7 separate regions of the Homo sapiens genome follow, and all the other regions are linked to region 2. Evidence: promoter capture Hi-C in 16 types of primary human blood cells and fetal thymus (Javierre and others, 2016). All regions are on one chromosome and are shown on one strand. The core of a region is centred on a gene start or on the middle of the fragment in contact, and the rest is flanking DNA. Distances in the headings are between cores, read along the strand shown.

Region 1 (3,383 bases), core at 204-2,703, 970 kb before region 2:
GGGCACAATGCAAAATGAAAAGGCAGGGCCTTCTGTTCAAAAATCGTTAAGAATTTCAAGATGGCAACAACACAACATTAAATCGATTGTGGAGCCCTCCTAAACACACAGTTGCACAGGTCACACACTTATAAAGCCAGCTCTGGTTTTGTAAGTTAGAATGTAACAAAATGCTTGAATCAAGAAATCTAATCAAAATGTAAAATGTCATTTCAAAATTGAATCATGTTTCACTCTTTTCCCACAGATTGGACTTAGTATTAAAAAGATGGGATCGTTTTTGGCTGGGCGCAGTAGCTCAAGCCTGTAATCCCAGCACTTTGGGAGGCCGAAGCAGGCAGATCACGAGGTCAGGAGATCGTAGACCATCCTGGCTAACACGGTGAAACCCCATCTGTACTAAAAATACAAAAAAGTAGCCAGGCGTGGTGGCGGGCGCCTGTAGTCCCAGCTACTCGGGAGGCTGAGGCAGGAGAATGGCGTGAACCCGGGAGGCGGAACTTGCAGTGAGCCGAGATTGTGCCACTGCACTGCAGCCTGGGCAACAGAGCGAGACTCCGTCTCAAAAGAAAAAAAGAAAAAAAAAAAAGAAAGACGGGATCATTTTTAACAACACATTTGAATTGTATATCTGTTATGGCTCTTCAAATATAAAAATCTAGTACTTAAGCCTTACCCATTATCTACCAGGCCCTTTGTTTTACAGATGAGAGATGGTTAAGTGATCTGCCTGACATATCTACTATGAGCCAGGGTTGAAACCCAGGGCTCTGAAATTTCTCTTCCTAAACTTTCCATAACACCTGCTTGACACACTCTCTATAAATGTCTTACTTTCACGTACCCCGTATACATGCATTTGTATGTCTTGTTAAAGGAATGAAGGAAGGGTAGGAGGAAGAGAGGGGGAGGGACGGAGGAAAGTGAAGAAGGGAAGGAGAGAGGAAAGAAAGAAAATCAAGCTTAAATTATTTTCCATATCCTTAACCCTACAGATTTATTCATACAATTTAAATAGCTTCTACATATGTATATCTAAAAATCCACTGTTTTATTTTAAAAGTAAGAACCCCAATGTAATGGAACTTCTATTCTCTATTATGAAGGGAATGTCATATTTCTTCTGAGGACATAAAATGGAAATCTTAAAACTAAGTTGTATTTCCATTTTTTCAGAAACAAAAGTAGAGTTTTAATAATTCTTAAGAATAACTGTCATTAATTAAAAACAATAATCCTCATTCTGCCCTTAGATTTAGCCCAATCCTATGGTGGGAACTCTTTTTGTATTCTTTCATCAATTCCTCACAATGATTTTATATTTAGGGAATCATTGTTAACACTCCTCACTTCAAAGCTGAGGGATTAGGGCATTTACCTGAGTCACATGGCCTCTCCCTGGCACCACCAGGATGCAAATCCAGGATCAGCTCCCTTGGGCCCACACTTGCAACCTCCTCTTGCACTATTCTGCCTCTGAAATGCAGAACTCCAGCCAACTAGCTCCTCTTTTGCAATCTAAAGTATTGTTCTCATATTCCTTCATTGCATGTTTAACCTAGCCTTTTTGAACTCTGTTTCAACAATTGCTTACATATTTTTCCTCAGTGAGAATAATTTATTGATTGATGGGAATGGATTAAAAATCAGAGTGTATAGGATCAAATTTACAAACATATACAATGTGATGTCCTTTCTGATTTTCATTGTTTTCAGTTTCTCTGTAAGGATTCAGTTAATCATTCCCCTTAGTAGAAACCTTTCCTGTTTTCCTCTGAACTGCTAAGCTGGTGATTTTCATCACCATCATTTAAATGCATAAGCCTCACTAGGCTGGTATTTACTCTAATTAATGTTGAACATGCTTCCGCAGAAGGCCTCTGTAGGATTTCTTTTGTGATTTAGATGTACTCATCTCTCTTTTTGAGAGGTTATATGCAGGAGATAAGCTTACATTTCTTTTTAAAAAATATGTCTGAAGGGGAATAAAATATTTTACACAATCTGGGGCTATTTTGATATGACAACAGATATGTGCTGTGTTCCTAGTACTGGGCTGAGCATGAGGGGTTGGAGGGGAGAGTCACTACAAGCTTAAGAAAAAGATTCTAACTTTGCTTTTAAAGTTTTAAGCCTACCTGGGAGAAAGGGAACTGTTGCATAAGTGAACAGAAATGGCTGGCCAGGCGCGGTGGCTCACGCCTGTAATCCCAGCACTTTGGGAGACTGAGGCAGGTGGATCACGAGGTCAGGAGATCGAGACCATCCTGGCTAACACGGTGAAACCCCGTCTCTACTAAAAATACAAAAAATTAGCCGGGCGTGGTGGCAGGCATCTGTAGTCCCAGCTACTTGGGAGGCTGAGGCAGGAGAATGGCGTGAACCCGGGAGGCGGAGCTTGCAGTGAGCCGAGATGGCGCCACTGCACTCCAGCCTGGGCAACAGAGCAAGACTCCAACTCAAAAAAAAAAAAAAAAGAAATGGCCAACAGCCCAGGGGTCAGGGGACACAGCCCTGCCAAAGATTCGCTCACTCTACTCTCTGCAGCTTCTTTTGGGTTGGTCTTCCAACCTATAAAATACAAGGATGATAGGATGATTTCTAAAGGTTCCCATCCAGCCCTAAGATTCTATACCATAATGAGTAATCAAATGATAGGGGTGCTAAGTCAGGCTAGACTGCAAGGTTTCTCAACACTGTGGACATTGTTGGTCCAGTAATTCTTTGTTGTGGGGGACTGTTGTGTGCACTGTAAGATGTCTAGCTACAATCCTTGACCTTTACTGACTACATGCCAGTAGCTCCCACCCCAGCTGTGACAACCAAACATATCTCCAGATATTACCAAATGACTCTAGGGAACAAAATCACACCCAGTTGATAACCACTGAGCTGGAGAAATCCCAAGAAGATCAAAAGAATTGTACTGGAAGCTCTTGAGCAAGGTTTCATGAAAGAGGTGCATCTTGAGCTGGGTCTTAAAGGACTGGGATTGATGGAGAGATGAGAAATGTGTATGAATGTATGTACAGTAAAAGAATTTGCATGGTACAGACTGCAGACTGCACAGTCATACATATGCATGAGGAAAAGAGGAGGATGGGTCAGCAATAACTGTGGGTCACAGCCAAGCATAACAGTCGACAAAAGGAGAATGGAGAGCTTCGATTGCCCAGGAATTTGTCATACTTTATAATAAATAATTTTATCGCCAAAATAGATTTTTTAAGGGATAATGAGAATAATTTCCATTGTTCAATTAAATGTATTCCATCATAAATTAGGAAGCCTCAGCTGGGTGCAGTGGCTCACTCCTGTAATCCCAGCACTTGGAAGTCCAAGGCAGGAGGATAGCTTAAGGCCAGGAGTCTGAAACCAACCTG
Region 2 (3,215 bases), core at 675-3,174:
TTGCGTCCACACCCACATGAACAAGGTAAAAAACATGGTTTATGTGCTTCAAGTTCTCGTCACTGTGTCCCTGGAGAAAAAAACGTACTTTTTTGAGCACCTACTATGAGCCAGTTTCACCAGCCATTCCTAGCACGGTGTTCCGCTAATGCAAACCTTAAGGCAGCCAATCAGCCATTTAATGATGTCAGTGATCAATAAATGGCAATTAGTAATTGACACGAATCCAACTCTTTTTTTTTCTGGAATGTCTTTTATTCATTATGAAGAAAAAAAAAACTCACACCCTTTACATTTTAAAGATGAAGCTTATGGGACAGCACGACGTCCCATGAGCCGGCGTCGGTTCTGGGTATCCTCCACGTGGCCTTTCCTGGACTTGCGTTATTTAAAATATGCGATTTCACTACTTGAGGTTACCGAGTACTAATTTTACAATACTGTGTAGCTACATGAAGCGGCTCGAAATATACTATTATCACTCCGTTTTAAGCAGCACGATGTCTGGATGAAGCATCAAAGCGAGATGGGTCAACTTAAAGGGCCTTTAAAACATCTTGAAGCAATAATAAGCCATACACTGAAGCAGGGGCGGTTTTAAACATTACACAGAACTTAAAACAATCGAACGAATTCGTCCTTTGTTCTTTTTATTACATTAATTATTACATTAATACTGTTTAAAAAGAAACTCAAAAGGCATTAAACTTAGGTACCAATCTACACAAAGTCCTCGAAGGGGCCTGGCTTGGACCGAACGCGCTTTTGTGCCGCCCCGCTCGCTCGCAGCACCCTGAAGGCCACTGAGCTTAGGGCGCTAGGTCCCTAGAAGCGACTTGAAATGAGGGGGTCGCCAGGCCAGGCCCTCGCTCTGCAGGGGAGGATCCGACCAAAGTTTGCCAAGTTTCCAGGCAAGCCCAACTGCGCAAATGCCGCTTTTTAGCTCCAGCGGCAGGCCTGGCCCGTGGGAGTTTTGCCCCAGGGGTCTCCGGGCCTTCAAAGAAAAGTCCCACGAGGTGGGGGGCGCCGCCTGGGCCGCCGGCCAGGGGGACCCGTCGCCCCAGGGCACAAAGAAAGAGCGCGCCTACAGGGTGTCCCCTGACCCCGGCGACTCGGGGCCAGGGAGGCTCGGCGCGCCCCAGCGGCCGCTCTTCCCCTCCCGAACCCGCCCGGCCCACTCGCTCCTGCACCGCGGCCGCCTCGGCTCGGCTTTTCTCTTGCAGTGAGCTGAGTGCGCTCAGCCGAGGAGGGGCCGCGCCGCGCCGCGCCGGCCGCGGGGCCCAGCCCTTCCCGCCGCGCCCGGGGCCGCCCTTCCCGCTGGAGCCGGCTGATCGATGGCCCTGGCAGCCCGCGCCCCCCGCCTCGGCTCGCCCGCGAGCCCGGCTGTGTGTTTTGGAAGCAGCGCAGCGGGCCGCAGCCGTGTGACGCCCGGAGCGGGCAGCGCCGCCCTTCCTTCCCCCCGGGCTCGGGCGGCGGCGCGGCGGCTGGGCCGGGCGGGAGGGCTGGCGGGGCGCGGACTCCGGGGAGGAGGGCGCGGGGAGGGGACGCGGGCGGGGACGCGGGCGGGGGGCGGAGGCCGCGCCGCGCACGCCCAGCCCCACGGCCGCGCCGCGCCTCGTGGGACAGGTTGGGCCGGCGGGGCGGCGCCCGGCTCCGGGGAATAATGAGTGTCTGTCAGGCCGTCCCCGGGTGACTGGGCGGGGCGGGGCGGAGGCGGCGCGGGAGGCGGGGGTGGCGGGGGAAGGGCGCAGGGCGGGGTGCGTGTTTGCGCGAGTGACTCGGCCGACCCCTCCGGCGGCTGCCTCCACCCAAGTGGGTGGGGACCCGCCCAGCCCGGGCGGCCGCGGCGGCTCCCTCTCCCCTCCCTGACCCTCCCACCCCGGGTCCCAGCCTCTACTTACCCCGCCAGCCCCGGGAGGCTCGCAGAGCGAGCGGCGCCGGCGTCATGTGACTGCCCGGAGTTGGTGCCAGGAGCCAGAGGGGAGCCAGGAGCGGAGCCGCGCGGAGCCGGGGCCCGAGCCGGAGCGCAGCGAGAGCGCCCGCCGCACGCGCGCCCGTCCCCGTCCCCTGCGGCCGCCAACGCCGCCCGGACTGGAGCCCTGACATTGCTGCGCTCGGGGGGCTCCAGGCAGCCCGTATCGGGGCCTTTATTTCTCGTCGGCGGCGCCCTGCACCGCGCCTCGCAAAGTAAGTCCCGTCTCCCTCACCTCTGCTCCGCACCCTGGTCCCTGCCGCCCCCCTCCTCGGCCAGTCTGGTTTCATTTTTTCTCCTGGAGGGGGCCGCGGGGAATGGGTCGGGGGTGCAGCGCTGGTGTTGGGGGGGGCGCCTGCGGGCTTGGGAAAGTGTGGCGGCTACACTTAGCCGGGGTGGGGGCGGAGAGCAAGCAAGGAGGAGGGGGTCACGGGTTCGCGGTGAAAAGTGAGGGGTTGAGGCGAGGCACCGTGCGGACCCCGGGTGCGGGGGAGCGGGGCTGGCAGCGCCCGCCGCCGTCCCGGGCAGGGCGCGGGCGGGGGCTCACCTGTGTGGTCCCCGGCCTCCTCCCGCCCGCTCACGATTCCCTCCAAAGCCCCAGAAATCTCCGTGCTCTCCGCGTGTGGCAACGTTGTTTGGAGAAAGGTAGCGCCGCGGCCGCGCGCTCCTGCTCCTCCCCCTCCCGGTGCCCCCCCACCACCACCACAACCCAGGCTCCCGCGTCCTTCCCCTCCCCTCCCTCCGCCCGCGCCCCCCGCCGCCCCCCTCCCAGGACACGGCGCGCGGCCGCTCGCCCGCCACAGCAAACTTGGAGCAGTCTCCCGGCCCTCTGGAAAGAAACTTAGGGCAATTGGGATTGGAGGCAGCATCCCATTCTCGGTTCTGGAGCCCAGGAGCTGCCAGGGCGTCTGGATCCTCCGGGGCAGGAGAAATGAGCTGGTCGGGTTTGGAGAGTCTTCCTGGGGGCATGGAGAGAACCTGCCGCAGTGCCTGGAGCAAGGATTGCAGCGTGGCTGAAGGCGGAAGACGCCTTAGGCAACTGCCTGCAGCCGAGCCTGATGGGGACCCAGGGACAGATCCCTGGATCAGGACCCATGGGACCTACCTAACATTTCCAAGTGGCTTTCTTAGAGATGGCAGATGAGATCTGGAATTGTCATATTCATTTTTTTGGGCAGATAGCTACTGACAAGGAGAAGCACTTTTCTGGTTTAAATTTTATAGCAGTATACAATAATACTAG
Region 3 (3,259 bases), core at 704-3,203, 600 kb before region 2:
AAGTGATTCTCATGCCTCAGCGACCTGAGTAGCTGGGATTACAGGCATGCCCCACCAAGCCTGGCTAATTTTTATATGTTTACTAGAGACGGGGTTTCACCATGTTGGCCAGACTGGTCTACAACTCATGGCCTCAAGTGATCCTTCTGCCTCAGCCTCCCAAAGTGTTGGGATTACAGGCGTGAGCCCGACCCACCGCAGTCTAATTTTGAAACATTTTTTGTCCCCCTAGAAAAAAACCTGTAGTTGTCACTTGCCAATCTACTGCCGTCCACCTCTAACCATAGACAGCCCCTAATCTACTTTCTGTCTCTATAGATTTGCCTATTCTGAACACTTCATCTAAGTGCAATCATATAATATGTGGTCTTTTGTGTCTGGCTTCTTTGATTTAACATGTTTTCAAAATTCATTATGTCATAATACATACCAGTAATCCATTCTTTTTTAATGACTTATTAATATTCCGTTGTATAGAGACATCACATATGGTTTATCCTTTACCAGTCGAGAGGCATTTGGATTGTTTGCACTTTTGGCTGTTACGGATAATACCGCTGTGAACATTGATGTATGTGTTTTTGTGTGTTGAATGTGAGCTGGTGTGGAAACTCCTCCTCCAGGGGGGCCTTACCTGTGATTCTACCCACGGGGATGGTTAAGCCAGCAGGGATGGGAAGGGTTTGGTCCTGCTGGCCCTAGGCTTTCCTGCAGGCTGCCATGTGCCTTTCTTCTGCCTAGGCTGAAACGGAGGCTGCCCTGGTTTCTGGCACTGCCCTCATGAGTGTGTGGGAAGGCTGGGGGAAGCCAAGTCTCCATGGTGCCTCCATCAGGGACCCTGCAGCTGGGAGGCAGCCAGAGGGCCACAGGTTGGTAGCATTCACACAGAGCTACATTTCTTTTTTTTTTTTTTTTTGAGACAATCTTGCTCTGTCGCCCAGGCTGGAGTGCAGTGGTGCGATCTCCGCTCACTGCCACCTCCACCTCCCAGGTTCAAGGAATTCTCCTGCCTCAGCCTCCCAAGTAGCTGGGACTACAGGCGTGCGCTGCCATGCCCGGCTAATTTTTTGTGTTTTTAGTAGAGACGGGGTTTCACCACGTTGACCAGGATGGTCTTCATCTCCCGACCTCGCGATTCACCTGCCTCGGCCTCCCAAAAAGTGCTGGGATTACAGGCGTGAGCCACCATGCCCAGCCTACATTTCTTTTTTTTTTTTCTTTGAGATGGAGTCTTGCTCTGTCACCCAGGCTGGAGTGCAGGGGCACCATCTCTGCTCACTGCAACCTCCGCCTCCTGAGTTCAAGTGATTCTCCTGCCTCAGCCTCCGGAGTAGCTGGGATTACAGGCAACTGCCACCACACCTGGCTAATTTTTTTATTTTTATTTTTTAATAGAGACGGAGTTTTTCCATGTTGACCAGGCTGGTCTCGAACTCCTGACCTCAAGTGGCCTCAAGAGGCCAATCCGCCTTGGCCTCCCCAAGTGCTGGGATTATAGGTGTGAGCCACTGCACCCACCCAGCCCGTAGCTACATTTCTGTCAGCTGTTTGCAAACTGTGCCCCAGAATCCCCTGGAGGACTTGTAGAACCACCAGTTACTGGGTTACGCCCCCAAATGTCTGATGCTGGAGATGAATTATCTTGGGTGGAGCCCTCAAGCCGCAGCAGCTGATAAGCATGGGGACCTCCTATTCTGATAAAAATTCCAAAAAAGTCCTGAGTGATTAATAAACAGCACATTGAAAATTAGAAATGAGTTCTATGGCAGGGGATGAAACAGGCAACAAAGCCTATTTTCTTTGCAATGAAGCGCATCAGATATTAATAATAGCCATTGTAATTATCTTTATCATGTATTAAGCATTTTGTGTTTTTCACTTTTACACAATTAGATGATCCCCATAGGTATTACCGCCTTTTTTTTTTTTTTTTTTTGAGACAGAGTCTTGCTCTATCCCCCAGGCTGGAGTGCAGTGGCACGATCTTGGCTCACTGCAACCTCTACCTCCCAGGTTCAAGCTATTCTCATGCTTCACCCTCCTTAGTAGCTGGGATTACAGGCGCCTGCCACCAGACCCAGCTAATTTTTTGTATCTTTTTTAGTAGAGACAGGGTTTCGCCATGTTGGGCAGGCTGGTCTCGAACTCCTGACCTCAGGTGATCCGCCCACCTCGGCCTCCCAAAGTGCTGGGATTATAGGCGTGGGTCACCACAACTGGACTTACTGCCCATCTTTTAAGAGATGAGGACAGAAAGATTGAGTGACACAGTTATGTCTCCTGCAGCTCTTGGTTCACATAGCCAGGATTCGTATCAATCTATTTAGCTCTAAATCTAGTCTCTTAATCACAGTAATGAACCGTTGACAGTTTTACGAGTAAATTATCAAGAGTTTTGATAGGTTTGCTCACTTAAATTAGTGCTTGTACAGTAATGGGCTGTGTTAGTGTGAAGGAATGTATCTTATGTTGGAAGTACTCTAGAATTAAATGTTAACTCTTGCTAATAAAGCATACATTTGGGGCATTATTAGCAACTTTTTTTTTTTTTTTTTAGCAAAATTAGAGGCTTCCTAGTTGAGTGGTTTATGTTATTTATATTTATTTATTTGTTTGTTTGTGACAGGGTCTTGCTCTGTCACCCAGGCTGGAGTACAGTAAGTAGCACAATCATAGCTCACTGCAGCCTCGACCTCTTGGGCTCAAGCAGTCCCCTGCCTCAGCCTCCTAAGTGCCTGGGACCACAGGTGCGCATCACCACGCCCTGCTAAATGTTTACAGTTTTTGTAGAGACAGGGTCTCACCATGTTGCCCAGGCTGGTCTTGAACTCTTGAATTAAAGCAATCCTCTTGCTTCAGACTCCCAACATGCTGGGATTACAGGTTGTGCCACTGCGCCAGGCCTCCATGTATTTGAATGAAAGAGCAGACATCTCCTGGAGGTGGCAAAGCTATGCATGCCCCCCCTGGAGGGGAGCTGGGGGCTCTGGGGTTACAGTGATGGCACATTCAGGGAGCTCTCCGCTTTGTGAGATCCTGAGATAAAGCCAAAGGATGCATTAAACTGCTTCTAAATGAACTTTTTCCAAGTGAATTTGTTATATCACTTCTATATAAATGAAAATATTTGCAGCATGAGTACTAACAAGATTTTTTTTTTCTTTTACCCCGATGGAGTCTCGCTCTGTCGCCGGGCTGGAGTGCAGTGGTGCAATCTTGGCTCACTGCAACCTCCGCCTCCTGGGTTCAAGCGATTCTC
Region 4 (3,382 bases), core at 587-3,086, 690 kb before region 2:
TTGGGCTGGGTTGGCCATTTGGCCTGAGGAACTCAGTGAGTGGTTCCACCTGACACATGCATAACACATCAGCGATTAAACCTTTGGACTTTTTTTTTTTTCAACGTGGAACTCAGGAGTGGCTGGGATTGAAACTCAGCTTTACCTTTGTAGCCATAAACTGACCACCTTGTCTCATCATCTTGCCTTGGGAGAGAAGAAAACTATGGTGAAATCAACATTTCTCAAGTTGCTAAAGCCTCCTGGCAGGCAGGAGCTAAATGGTTCTTTTTCCTCTGCCCCACTTTTGGTCTCAATGGCCGAGTTTCCTGACTCCAAGAAAACCACCTTTGATTATATAAAGGTATTAGGGGCTGGGGAACACTGGTCTTTTGTTACTAGCAATCTAAAGCGCTTAGGAAGAAAAGCCCTGGGGGTGGGGGTCACCCCTGGAAAGTTGGGCGGGCTTTGTGTTAGCTCCAACTCTGGGGCTTTTGTGGAACCTCGGAGAGGGAGGAATTCTTAGATTTCTGAAAGTTGTGCGAAACGGACCCCAGAGGCCTGGAAAGGCGCGTCCCCAGCCTCCAGGGTTTCCTGCGCAGCCCTGGGCATCTCGGAAGGGGGCGACCCCAGCATGTCCCAACTTCCCGCCAGCAGCGGAGCGCGGGGGTGGGCGGGGTCGGCTGCGCGCCCTCCCCTCCTCTCCCCTCCTCCCCCCGCCCACCCCCTCCCCGCGCTCTCCCCTCCCACTTCCCTTTCTCTGCCTGGCCGCCCCGCGGGCGCGACCTCTCGGGGCAGTGACGAACTGGGTGGAGCCCGCCGCCGCCGCCGCCGCCGCCGGGGAGAGCGATGCCCCGGCCCCGCCGCTCCCCAAGCCCGCCCCCGGCCGCCCGCGGGCCCACGGGCCGGCGGCGGGAGTGAGCGGGAGCCGGCGGGCGAAGAGCCGCCGCCCGGCCCGCGATGTCACCATTGTTCAGCTGGGTGGCCAAGGTAGGCGGCGTCGGGCGGGCGCCCGTTACCGGAGCGGAGCGGCAGGCGCGGGGCTGGAACATTTGTAACCTTCGGGCCGGGGCTGGGCCGGGCCGCTGGAGGCCAGGCGCGGCGGGGGGCGAGCGGCGGGCGCGACCAGGTCGTTAGCCGCGCGTTTCTCATTCATTAGTCTCCCAGATCCCTGTGGGGAGGACGGGCGAGGTAGCGGCGCCCATTTCACAGTTGGGGAGACTGAGGCTGTACTCGGGGACCCCTGCGGGAGCCCGAACCCAGCAGGCGGCTCCTCCGGCCCCTGTCGCTCCCCGCGCCGCGGAGCTGCCGCTCGGTGCCTCCCCGGCGCGGGACCTCGCGGAAGTCGACCCCGCGTGTCTCCCTCGCGGGTGTCGCCCTCGTGTGTCTCCCTCGCAGAAGTCGGCTTGCGCTGGGCCGCCTGGACAGGGCGCCGAGGATGCCCAGAGGCTGGTGCCCACAAGGGGCGTCTGTCTTTCGTTTTTAACCCTCTGGTTTCAAAGGGCATGTTCTGAGGTCTGAGTTTTAAATAGAAGTTTTTAACTTTCCATTCCCACAAAGTTTTATTTTCAGAACATCAGCGCCTTCGAGATAACTGGGTGGTGCAAATCCAGGCCAGTTGCACTGTTGCTAACAGGAAGGCATAAGTGTAGATTTCCCGAGTTCCCACCAGTTCGAGAACACAGTAATAGCATCAATAGCATTCTTTTTATCCACTCCTGCAGTGCCAGGTGTCTGAATGTGTTTTAAAGGATGCGACCCTCGCCACCTTGAAAGGCTCGCTGGTCGTTAGGGCATCTTGCTGTCACCCCATGCACTCAGTCCCTTGGCCGGCGCCTTCCCAGGGCTTGTTTCCTGTGTATGGCTGGTTGAGTAATAAGCTCACAACTCGTTAGCCATACTGTGAGGCTTTACCAATTAATAATTTAATTAGGTGGTGGTTATGTCTTGAGTTATCATGCAATGCTTTTATAGTCTTATTTAATTACATTTTTATGAATACCTGTTTGTGAGCAGGTATGGCTTTGCCTGTGATTTAAGTGATACAAAATTGGAGACACAGAAACTAGATAACACTAGTTTTTAGATGGGCAAAAGTTTTTAGGTAGATTTTCTTACTAGGTAAATAACATTCCATTAGAATCACTTCCTGAAACATAGCTGGTGGTAAAATGAGATGACTTTCAAAAACGTTTTGAGTCATTAAAAAGTCATTTCAAAAACCATCACAGACTTTTAGGACGATTGTTAGCCTTCTCCGAGTGTCAGTACGTTGGAAAAGTTTATATAGAGGAAATGTAGGCTGGTAGCTTAATTTGGATTCTGAATCTTGTTATTTCAAAATTATTATTTTTGAGACAGAGTCTTACTCTTGTCACCTAGGCTGGAGTGCAGTGGTGCGATCTCAGTTCACTGCAACCCCCACCTACCAGGTTCAAGCGATTCTTGTGTCTCAGCCTCCCCAGTAGCTGGGATTACAGCTGTGCGCCACCACTCCCAGCTAATTTTTGTATTTTCAGTAGAGATGGGGTTTTGTCATATTGGCCCGGCAGGTCTCGAACTCCTGGGCTGAAGTAATGCCCCCACCTTGGCCTCCCAAAGTGCTGGGGTTACAGATGTGAGCCACCACACCCGCCCTCAAAATTATTATTTCGATTACAGGACAACAGCGGAAAAACTATTAAATGTTTTTGGAGCAAATTCATGTATACCTCTTAGCATACATTTTTAAAATGTGGTTATTTTATATTTCATTTCCTGTAGGTGGTGCATGCATTACAAATTATATCCCGAAATTGAATGATTTTTATAGATAACGTGTTATCCTGTGAAAGATTTTAGAATACGAAATTAGTCTTTGGAAGTTTATTTCTTGGAGTTATAGATTGTAAGAATGATGTTCTATGGAACTGATGTGGTTTACGGTGAAGAGGCAAGTCATTAACACACTTTACATTACAAACTAGGTAATATCCTAAAGACAAAGACAAAAGGCATAGATAATGTACACAATGTGAATAATCTTGAAGTTGTTATATTTGACTTCAGAATGCCCCTTCAGAAACACACAGCTGCACATGAGCACAGGCCTCACACAAACACCTGCACATCCAGTTACGCAGCTGACTTTCCTTTTCCTTTTTCATTTTGACCTTTGCAACTGCAGCTGAACACCTGGTGGGGAAGGAGAAGGGGTGGGTGTCGGTTGATTCACATGGATACCTGAGCACGAATGTGTTTTTCTTTTTTTTTGTTTTGAGACAGAGCTTCGCTCTTGTTGTCCAGGCTGGAGTGCAATGGCACAATCTTGGCTCACTGCAACCTCTGGCTCCTGGGTTCAAGTGATTCTCCTGCCTCAGCCTCCCGAGTAGCTGGGATTACAGGCTTGCGCCACCACCCCCGC
Region 5 (3,294 bases), core at 457-2,956, 580 kb before region 2:
TTTCAGCTCCATGTTCCTGTGAGCACTGACAGTTTCCCCACAATACTGAAGAAAGAAGGAAAATAAGGGCGGGGTGGCGAAGGTCGCCACTGTGACGTGGCTGCTGGTGGGAAGTCCCTGGGGAGGCAAGGCCCAGCTTCCCAGACACAGCCCTCAGGTGCTCATCCTGGTGGCACTGACCAGGGGCCATGGTGGGCTTTTCCACCCCACCATGTCTCATAAAATTACAAGAACCACAGTTGAAAATCAGTGTTACAGAAATGGTAATAGGATAGGGCAAACTGTTACAAAGATCAGCACTTAAGATTCTGGCTGAGGCGGAATATTTGTTTCTCTTTAGTTTTGTTGTCTTTAATCAAGAACTGAGAGCCCTGACTTTCAGCTCCTCAAAAAATACAGCTTCCTTCCCCTTGCAGATGCAAAAACAAACGCCACTTCTTTCCAAGCATAATTTTCTCCCATGCGTTATCTCCTGTCTACAGCTTTTTCTTGATCCTTCTCCAGCTCCTGTAGACCTCCCATTTAGAGCCACCAGCCGCCCATCACTGGGGCTGCGCAGAGCTCTTGGTGCTCTGTGCCCTGGGCTCGCCCACCCAGGCCTGTTCTCTGTGCCTCTTCCTGGTTCTCTTCCCTGGACTTCCCACTGCCGTGTGGTCTTCAGTGCTCCTCTGAGCTGTTGTCATGACCTCTAACCAGACTGAGTCAGGACTTTTTTCTTCCTCATCTCTAAGTCATCCTTACACAGCCTTGGAAGTTTACCCTAAATGGCTATTTTGGGAGGGAGTGGGGATAAAGATCTGCAGGCCTCTTGCTCCTGGTCCTTGTTTCTGCTTATCTTGGCTTCTGTTTTTAAGTGTGTGTGCACCTCTTTCCTCATCACACCCTTCCCCTCCGTATGGCTCCCATCTCAGGCAGAGTTAGGTGCTCTGTTCTGTGTCCATAGCTCTTTTTCGAGCCCTTCTTCTCACTGTTTGGTAGTGGCCTTTCATGTGTGTCTGATCCACTAGGCTGTGCACTCCCTGCCTGCCAGGATATGGTTAAAGTGCTAAAGAATGTATATATGAGATCACTTTTGCTTAAAAAACCCCCAATCTTCTGGAATTCCCAATTTCTAACCAATTAATATGTGGATTGACTAGACCTTAAGCAACCAAGAGTCAGCCAGCCTTGTCTTCTATATTCAGGCGCATACTATCTGGTCGTTAGACAAAATGGGTCATTATCAGTGATGAGTTAATAATTACCTGCACATCTTGTTTATGCTGGTTCTTTACCTAAAGTGGCTCCCATCAATTAAACCTGTATGGATTTTACCTGTTCTTCCAGAACCACCCCACTTTCCACAAAAACTGACAACAATGATGGTAAGAAGAATGGTAGTTGACATTTTATTAAATGTTTACTGTGTGCAGGCTTGTTTTTTTCCACACATTTACCTACTTAATGCTCACAATAATCCTATGAACTAGTCAGTTTTATGCAGATTTCGCAGATTAGGAAACTAAGGTGGCAAGTGATCAGATAACCTGTTTGAGGTTGAGTAGCTAGATCATGGTAGAGCCAGGTTCAATCCCAGATACCTGGCTCCAGGGCCCATGCTCTTGACCTTATAAACGGCTGAAATTCATCTTTTTTTGCTGAACTTCCAGAACACTTTCTTTGTATTTCCCTTATTTTGGTAGTCTTGTACTTCTCTGCTACCCTGATTCATACTTGGATTTCTAGCAGCATGCCTGGCATGAGGCAACAACTTAACAGTATTTCTTTATACCAAATGAATGTTGTCTTTTTTTTTTTTTTTTTTCTTGAGACAGAGTCTCGCTCTGTCGCCCAGGCTAGAGTGCAGTGGCACTATCTTGGCTCACTGCAAGCTCCGCCTCCCGGGTTCATGCCATTCTCCTGCCTCAGCCTCCCAAGTAGCTGGGACTATAGGCGCCTGCCATGGCGCCCGGCTAATTTTTTGTATTAGTAGAGACGGGGTTTCACCGTGTTAGCCAGGATGGTCTCGATCTCCTGACCTCATGATCTGCCCGCCTCGGCCTCCCAAAGTGCTGGGATTACAGGTGTGAGCCACCATGCCCGGCCATGAATGTTGTCTTTAAAAAATTCTGTTTTCCTCTAGCTAGACTGTCATATAATGCAACTGTAGGAAATAATCAGGTTCTCTTTGGAGTATTTTCCATAAAAGATCCACAGAAGTCATGGCAGGGTTGAGAGTGGACTTGGGCAAATGAATCTGTTCATTCATTGAATATTCCATGCATATCTGCTGTTTCCCAGGCATGGGATATGGCAGGGAACACAGAAATCTCTGCCTCCTGGGCTCTGCTTTCTGTTGTAGTAGAGGTAAAGCTGCTCATACTTTGTAAACAATATGACAACATTAAGTCTACATGGTCATTTTACTTTGTTTTTTTCTAAGAAATTTTGAGCTGTTCGTAACAACAGACGCTGCAGATGTTAATCCCGTTGTTGTTAACTTTTCTCCAGAGATTTAATGTTCAATTTTCTCCTTTCCAGAATCGATTTATGTTGTTCAAACAGAGGTTTGAGAATAACTGGAATTTTTTTAACTTCTTTTTTTTTTTTCGCATGGAGTTCAGAATTTTCAAGAGGGATGAAGAGAGTTATAAAATGCTCTATGGTGGGTAACACACAGAAAAAGCCAGAAAATTGGAGAATAAGGATCTGTCTACTCGTTTCCTTCTAGAGCTCCTCTTTCTTACAGGGCACTTAACATGTGATTTAATGTCGTGTCTTTAAAAGGAGGAGAACTGCAGTTCAGAACTTAATGTCAGTGCTTTGTGAAAGTGCAAGAAAGAAGCCCTGTATTCTGCACTTGAGAGAGCCAGATACTGGGCAGATAGGAGGTGGTGTGCACGTTGCTTTTTGTCTTTCTCGATCATGGCATTGATTCTGTTCATAACAATGATGCAATGTCATCCTCTTCCCCACACATTTGTGTGCAGATAGAAAGAATGCAACAGCACAGAGTTGTTGGGGAATAATTTGGCATCTAAAATATCGACATACCAGCATAGATCATATTTATGACTCTGTTGGGAGTGTCACAGCAATGATTTAATAGGAGGCAGTTGTCTCCAAGGCCTCCTGAATTATGACTGGTTTTAAAATTCTTAGAACCCATTGGAGGCTATTGTTTCTGAAAGGCTACATAATTTAAGTGCTCCACATCCGTCATTATAGGAGATGTCAGAATAGTAAAATCTAATCCTGGACTAAGTTGTTATCGCAGCCCTTTGGTTTGGTGGCTTTGCCGACTTTATAAATATG
Region 6 (3,326 bases), core at 743-3,242, 550 kb before region 2:
TTTTTTCTTTTTTTTTTTTTTTTTTGGAGTTGGAGTTTTTCTCTTGTCTCCCAGGCTGGAGTGCAGTGGCATGATCTCAGCTCACTGCCATCTCTGCCTCCCAGGTTCAAGCAATTCTCCTGCCTCAGCCTCCCGAGTAGCTGGGATTACAGGCACCTGCCACCACGCCTGACTAATTTTTTCTATTCTTAGTAGCGATGGGGTTTCGCCATGTTGGGCAGGCTGGTCTCGAACTCCTGACCTCAGGCGATCCTTCCACCTAGGCCTCTGAAAGTGCTGGGATTACAGGCATGAGCCACCACACCTGGCCAACAGTTTTCTTTTTTCGATTGAAGTTCAGCTATTTGCAGGACCGAAGGTAGTTCTGATTACTTTCACCTGTACTTCCACCAAAAAATAAATAAAACAACCATGAGTAATTGCTGATTTTTAATTGAAAGCATTATTCCAGGAATAACTGGTGGACTTCGTTTGCAGAGGAAGTGGCAAAGACTGATTGATATTATGATCCAGCTTCTAAAGATTTTGCTGCTTAATCTGAAGCACATTGGATTTCTGGTTCAATAGGCTTTCTTTTTTTGTTTTTATTATTACAACTAATATGTATTCTTTTCACAGGGCGAACCTTTCCTACACACCCATACTTCTCTGCCCAGCTTGGAGCAGGACAGCTATCGCTTTACAACATTTTGAAGGCCTACTCACTTCTAGACCAGGAAGTGGGATATTGCCAAGGTCTCAGCTTTGTAGCAGGCATTTTGCTTCTTCATATGAGTGAGGAAGAGGCGTTTAAAATGCTCAAGTTTCTGATGTTTGACATGGGGCTGCGGAAACAGTATCGGCCAGACATGATTATTTTACAGGTATAGAGTGTTCCTTATGTCTTTAATACAACAAAATGCTAAGAATGTTTCTTATCCCTCTCCAGATGTGCCTCAGGAGCTTTTTCACCGTCAGGTAACATTGTAATAGCTGTCACTGCTGATAAAGGACTCTGTGCTAGGCATTATTCCAAGCGCTTCATCTGCACTTCCCTCTAAGGAAGACACTGTTCATCGTCTCAATTTGTAGATTGGAAAACTGAGTCTCCAAGAGATTATAAATTGGGCCCAGTCACACAGCTAGCAAGTGTCAGAGCTGGACTGGAAACCCAGGCCTCTCTGACTCTAGGGCCTTCCCTCTTGCCCCCATCAGCCATCAGATGATCTCAGACCTACCTCCCAGCCTCTGCATCTGCTCTTCCTCTGCCTCACCCCCACCCTTGTCATCTCAGGTTCAGCTCAAATATCACATCCTGGGAGAAGCTCATTCTGACTACCCTGATGTTGTGTTCCCCACTTCCACCTTGGGCACACTGCGTCACGTTATCCTGGCTGATTTCTTTTGCACAACACAGCCACTGCCAGAAATGATCTTGTTTCCATAATCATCTCCCTGTCTATTTTCTGATTTTTCATAGCCTGTGAACTTTAGGAGAGGGAAGGGATCTTACGGGTCTTGGAGCCGAGTTCCTAGTTTCTGAAACAGTGCGTGGGTTGAAGTAGGCACCCCATAAGTATTTGTTGAATGAACAATTCTGTCAGAGAAAACCAAACACAGTAGCGTATTGCAAATACCACGTGCTGCTCTTGCTGCCTGTCAGAGGGAAAACTCTGGATCCTGCTTCAGGAATATTCCTAAATGTTGCAGCACATGTTGATATGTTCATTTACTACCAGTAAGATACTATGCCTTCAGAGCTCTAGAGAGTATCCTGGGAGGGAATACATTAGAGCCAAGGACTTGCTTTGAGAGCACCAAATTATGTGATTCAAAATCTTTTCACCTTGACCTGTGAACATGGACCACGTGAATGCAAATATCATAGAAGGAACTCATTCACTGAAAGATTTTGACCACATAACACTTTCCACATGTACTGTGAGGTTCTTCCTACATTCCCTTTATTAACTTTAAAGACAGTGGTCACCAGGCAGTGGAATTTTTGAGTTTTCTATAATTTATGTAACACACAACTCTTTTGGGGTGGTGCCTTTGGTTGATTAGACAGTCTTCGATATGGGAGAGCCACAGCTGGTGCTTATGGGATTATATTATCTGAGCCTCTGAAAACGGTTTTGTTTTCTTTCTCTCAGTTTAGATAGGACATATCCAACTTGGTGGATCTTAGCGGATTCTGACCCTCTGTAGGTTGTTGTTTCTTTAGGCTCAGGCCGTGGCACTGCTCAGATCTGGGCTGGCTCTCGGGCCTCTGTGAGCCTGTAACTCTTGGTGGCACTACTAGGAACTGGCATGAGATTTCTGCCAGAATCATGTCATTCTGTGAAGTTGGAGTTCCACTTTAGTTGGAAAAAGTTTTTATTTCATCTTAAGATGCACACTTGTCTTCTTGTTTTAACTTGCCAGGTATCTGGATATTCCATATATTATACACCAAAAGAAATTATGCTTCTCCTGCCTATTGAGTAATTTCAGGGGTCCAGAGGGAACTTGCTGAGTGAACATGTACAATGGATTCCTATGGAATCATAAGATGCCCCTAATTCAGTCTTAGTAAAGAGACTGGCTTCTTATTTCTAATTCCTCCAGGCTTGAGTTGTGCAAAGAGTATGTATTTGTAAGAGAATTTATGAAATGTTTGCACAAGACAGATTTTTAGATCTTCTTAGTGGAGGAATACAAGGGAACAATAAAAAGGAAGTGGCAGTAGAAGACCCAGCGTTAGCGTCCTGGGCCTACACCCAGCCAGTGCCTGGCACCAGCAGGCACTTGGGAAGCACTTGTTGGATGAATTAGTAGCTGAGCTCAGTGGATCGCAAGCCAAATCGAATGTTTAAAGTTCTAGTAAGTCTTCTCTTACACCCACCCTGTGAGCAGTAGGCATAACTTTATTGCTGTGGCAGATCCCTAATTCTCAGCCCTTGTGGCTGTCTTCCTGCAGATCCAGATGTACCAGCTCTCGAGGTTGCTTCATGATTACCACAGAGACCTCTACAATCACCTGGAGGAGCACGAGATCGGCCCCAGCCTCTACGCTGCCCCCTGGTTCCTCACCATGTTTGCCTCACAGTTCCCGCTGGGATTCGTAGCCAGAGTCTTTGGTGAGCATTAGTAAATCTGTTTGCCAGAACCAGCCTTCTCTTATTAGAGGGGAAACATTTCCTGTCTCTCCGTGGTGATTCTTATTTTTATACCTGTAGCTCTTACCAGAACAGGGTATTGTTTGATAGTCTAAGATTAGTCAGGGGTGGGTTTTGTGACTTTGGAGTCCTCCTTAACTTCTGATAATCACGGGGCTTCCCTAGATGCCTTCATCTTGTGGGATG
Region 7 (3,001 bases), core at 199-2,698, 620 kb before region 2:
TACCACAGGCAGGGTTTACAGTCCTCTGCCATCCCTCCTAGACATATGGCTTTCAGAATTTTTCTAACCTACAGTAAGAAGCACATTTAACATTGTGGCGTAGTTCACAAACACACATACCTACACATTCACACACAAAATTAAAAGTTCACAAAACAATATTTACTGTGAACAACATACAATACATACTGATATTTTGTTCTATTTTATTTTTAAAATGCTCATGGCAAACTACTCAGTTGTACCACCTACTAACATGATAGAGGGAGCAGTTTGAGAAACACTTCCTTAGATGGATGAGTGCTTCTCAAATTTCAGGTGCTCCGCCTCCCGGGTTCAGGCCATTCTCTTGCCTCAGCCTCCTGAGTAGCTGAGACTGGTTAAAGTGCAGATTCTGGTTCAGTAGGCAGGGTGGGGGGAGCCCTGAAATGCTGCATTTCTGACAAGCTCCAAGGCAATGCTGCTGCTCCTGGTCTGCAGACCGCCTCTGGGGAGTGAGGTCCTAGACAGCAGTCTTGTAAATGTGAGTTTCTGAGTTAAAATCCAGGGGAACATAGTGTCGTCCAGCCTCCATCTAATACACACTGATCCCACCCTGCAATTCATTGCAAGTGTGGGAAGGCTATTTGCTTATTTGTTGTGTACAGATGAACCACACACCGCCCCTTTCATGTAGGAAGTTACCTAGGAGGAGAGAGATGACAGATACAGAAACAGCCCCAGCATCAAGCAGAGTGTGGTAGGAGCCCAGAAGTTACAAATAAGAGACATTGGTAACTTCAGTGTCAGAAGAGCAAGGGGAAGGGAAGTTAGGTTTGGTCAGTGGAACCAGGGAAAAGGTGAGGGGTGAGGGGGCAGTGATGCTTTTGGACTAAATCTTGGTGTAGGAATTGTGCCTATGGAAGTGAACAGAGAAGAAGGCATTCTAGACAGACCAGTGTCAATAGACATACCATGAAGACATTCATGTCACTCAGTGGGCTTTCCAGTAAGCCTTATTGCTTGCTTTTTATTTTTCTCCAAAAGGCAGATCTAGGAATATATACATATTCATTCTTCAGGACTCGATAGTTGTGAAGATTCTTTTAAAAGGATTTAAAAGTCTGTCTAAGATTGCAATTTCTAGAGTCATTCTAAGAGAGATGCAACTTTTCAGAAGCTGCTTGTATGTATTGTATATGTTTAAGTGTACTTTACATCTTTCTTTTATTCATCTTGAATTGAGAAACTACTATATTCTATTTTATGTAATTGGATCCCTTCTAAAAAATTGATCACCTAGGAGTTGCAAAGAAACCAAATAGCCCTGAAACTTGACAAATGAAAATGGCCCTTTCAGTTGTCCAATTAAGCTAAGGGTTAGCTCTTTGATATGATTTGGAGGGATATTAGTAAGAATTTAGATCAACAGGTTTGCATGATGGAGATTGTGTTCTGTGATGTATTGTCTTAGAGAGACTTTTAAATCCTTAAAAGAATCTTCACAACTGTTGAGTCCTGAAGAATGAAAAACTTCAGTTATGAAAGTAATCAATATTTCATAGTATGTTGGGAATTTTTTCCTAATTCTTATACAATTAAATGTATGTAACTTCTCCCTTTGGTAAACACATTTCTTTTTTTTTTTTTTTCAAATTAAAACCCTCAATACTTGTTACCTAAAAGGCACTCAACTGTGTAAATGAACAGGTAGAATTCAGTCTCCAGTCCACTGTTAGATGCATTCATTCTTGTTTACTCTATTCCTGTTGATTTATTTTTTCTCTTCCAACAATTTCAATAGGAGCAAGCTGCTACAATTCCTCTTTTTGAATATTTTGAATATATTAAAAATATATTGGCCACTAGCCACGTCCTGGGTGCAGTGTTAAACATCAGTTTGCTTGAGTGGTAGTAGTTCATTCCTTTGAAAAAGCGTGCATCGTGAAGGCATACAACTTTAAAATATTGTCATGATTCTCAACAAATGTTTGAGCACTCACTCCATAGATTTATTGCATACCTAATAAAACAATAACTTATGTTTGTGTAACATTTTACAACATAAAAAGTACTTTTGGTTGTATCATCTTGCTTTGTTCTTGAAACTCAGATACATTTTTACTTTACCCTCTTACAGAAGAAATTGAGGTGCAGAAAGAAATTATTTGCCCTGAATTGCAGCAGTAAGTGCCTACAGAGTGATTTTCCATATTCTAAGAATATTGATACAGTTCTTAATCTCAAATTATGAAGTCGAATCTCAACAGTAGATCAGATTCGGAGAGAGCCTTAAAATGTGGGTTTAACATGAGTGAACACATGTGGCAAAGATAAAGAACTTGGTTAAGCAGTGGAGACAAGTTCTCCAGCACTCACACCCCTTAGAAGCTGCAGTAAACAGTCCTGTTTTCTAGAGAGAGGGCACTATTCATGGCGTTGTTCAGAACGTTACAGATTGTGGCTTATGTCCTTCACTCCTGCACTTGGCCAGTCTCCCCATTTCTCCAGCAAGCCAGCAGTGTGTCCTTGAGGAGCGGGCATTTATTTAATGGACCTTCATTTTCTTCTGCTTTTGGTGGTGGCTTCTAGATGGCATTATAATCAGAACACATACTTAGATACTGCAATGTTTGCCCGTGCAGGAACTAGAGATTTATAAATCCCACATATTCCCCATGGTGTGTCTGATCTGCTGTGTGTTTGCTCCCAGGAGCCATCTGTGTGTGAAAAGGAGGCCTTGCCCATCTCTGAGAGCTCCTTTAAGCTCCTCGGCTCCTCGGAGGACCTGTCCAGTGACTCGGAGAGTCATCTCCCAGAAGAGCCAGCTCCGCTGTCGCCCCAGCAGGCCTTCAGGAGGCGAGCAAACACCCTGAGTCACTTCCCCATCGAATGCCAGGAACCTCCACAACCTGCCCGGGGGTCCCCGGGGGTTTCGCAAAGGAAACTTATGAGGTATCACTCAGTGAGCACAGAGACGCCTCATGAACGAAAGTAAGATTTGTTTAAATTTGTTGCATAA

The links. Contacts are between HindIII fragments. The CHiCAGO score rates a contact against its expected background, and 5 or more counts as called.
Region 1: a contact is called between a fragment that was not itself captured here and the fragment with the promoter of KLF3 in region 2, in 1 of 17 cell types (fetal thymus). The highest score is 5.6, in fetal thymus.
Region 3: a contact is called between a fragment that was not itself captured here and the fragment with the promoter of KLF3 in region 2, in 9 of 17 cell types (endothelial precursors, fetal thymus, M2 macrophages and 6 more). The highest score is 12.3, in endothelial precursors.
Region 4: a fragment that was not itself captured here is called in contact with the fragment with the promoter of KLF3 in region 2 in 1 of 17 cell types (fetal thymus); the score reaches 9.0 in fetal thymus.
Region 5: a fragment that was not itself captured here is called in contact with the fragment with the promoter of KLF3 in region 2 in 3 of 17 cell types (M2 macrophages, endothelial precursors and M0 macrophages); the score reaches 7.5 in M2 macrophages.
Region 6: a contact is called between a fragment that was not itself captured here and the fragment with the promoter of KLF3 in region 2, in 2 of 17 cell types (M1 macrophages and M2 macrophages). The highest score is 5.2, in M1 macrophages.
Region 7: a contact is called between a fragment that was not itself captured here and the fragment with the promoter of KLF3 in region 2, in 3 of 17 cell types (M1 macrophages, fetal thymus and M2 macrophages). The highest score is 5.6, in M1 macrophages.

Annotation. Positions count from the first base shown.
Region 1 is chr4:37,688,113-37,691,495 of GRCh38, forward strand. No RefSeq gene overlaps it. Among named protein-coding and RNA genes, the nearest start is that of RELL1, 3.4 kb to the left of the region's middle. The HindIII fragment of the contact is 987 bases long and covers 961-1,947 here.
Region 2 is chr4:38,662,275-38,665,489 of GRCh38, forward strand. KLF3 (KLF transcription factor 3) reads left to right here and starts at 1,925. Exons shown (of 6, transcript NM_016531.6): 1 at 1,925-2,187. It overlaps KLF3-AS1 (KLF3 antisense RNA 1), which reads right to left and starts at 2,619. Exons shown (of 16, transcript NR_171644.1): 1 at 2,520-2,619. RefSeq lists an enhancer at 1-114, silencers at 826-1,345, 1,376-1,645, 1,656-2,255, 2,316-2,665 and a promoter at 1,385-2,187. The HindIII fragment of the contact is 3,872 bases long and covers 307-3,215 here.
Region 3 is chr4:38,063,728-38,066,986 of GRCh38, forward strand. All of the region lies in intron 14 of TBC1D1 (TBC1 domain family member 1), which reads left to right. Among named protein-coding and RNA genes, the nearest start is that of PTTG2, 100 kb to the left of the region's middle. The HindIII fragment of the contact is 8,274 bases long and covers 1-3,259 here.
Region 4 is chr4:37,976,561-37,979,942 of GRCh38, forward strand. The region is part of intron 2 of TBC1D1 (TBC1 domain family member 1); the gene reads left to right. Among named protein-coding and RNA genes, the nearest start is that of PTTG2, 18 kb to the left of the region's middle. RefSeq lists silencers at 629-698, 769-888, 1,009-1,058, 1,079-1,378. The HindIII fragment of the contact is 3,989 bases long and covers 1-3,382 here.
Region 5 is chr4:38,082,149-38,085,442 of GRCh38, forward strand. All of the region lies in intron 14 of TBC1D1 (TBC1 domain family member 1), which reads left to right. Among named protein-coding and RNA genes, the nearest start is that of PTTG2, 120 kb to the left of the region's middle. The HindIII fragment of the contact is 3,537 bases long and covers 1-3,294 here.
Region 6 is chr4:38,115,092-38,118,417 of GRCh38, forward strand. It overlaps TBC1D1 (TBC1 domain family member 1), which reads left to right. Exons shown (of 22, transcript NM_001396959.1): 18 at 619-863; 19 at 2,942-3,101. Among named protein-coding and RNA genes, the nearest start is that of PTTG2, 160 kb to the left of the region's middle. RefSeq lists enhancers at 3,099-3,326, 3,232-3,326. The HindIII fragment of the contact is 5,058 bases long and covers 1-3,326 here.
Region 7 is chr4:38,046,926-38,049,926 of GRCh38, forward strand. It overlaps TBC1D1 (TBC1 domain family member 1), which reads left to right. Exons shown (of 22, transcript NM_001396959.1): 11 at 2,693-2,973. Among named protein-coding and RNA genes, the nearest start is that of PTTG2, 88 kb to the left of the region's middle. The HindIII fragment of the contact is 9,326 bases long and covers 1-3,001 here.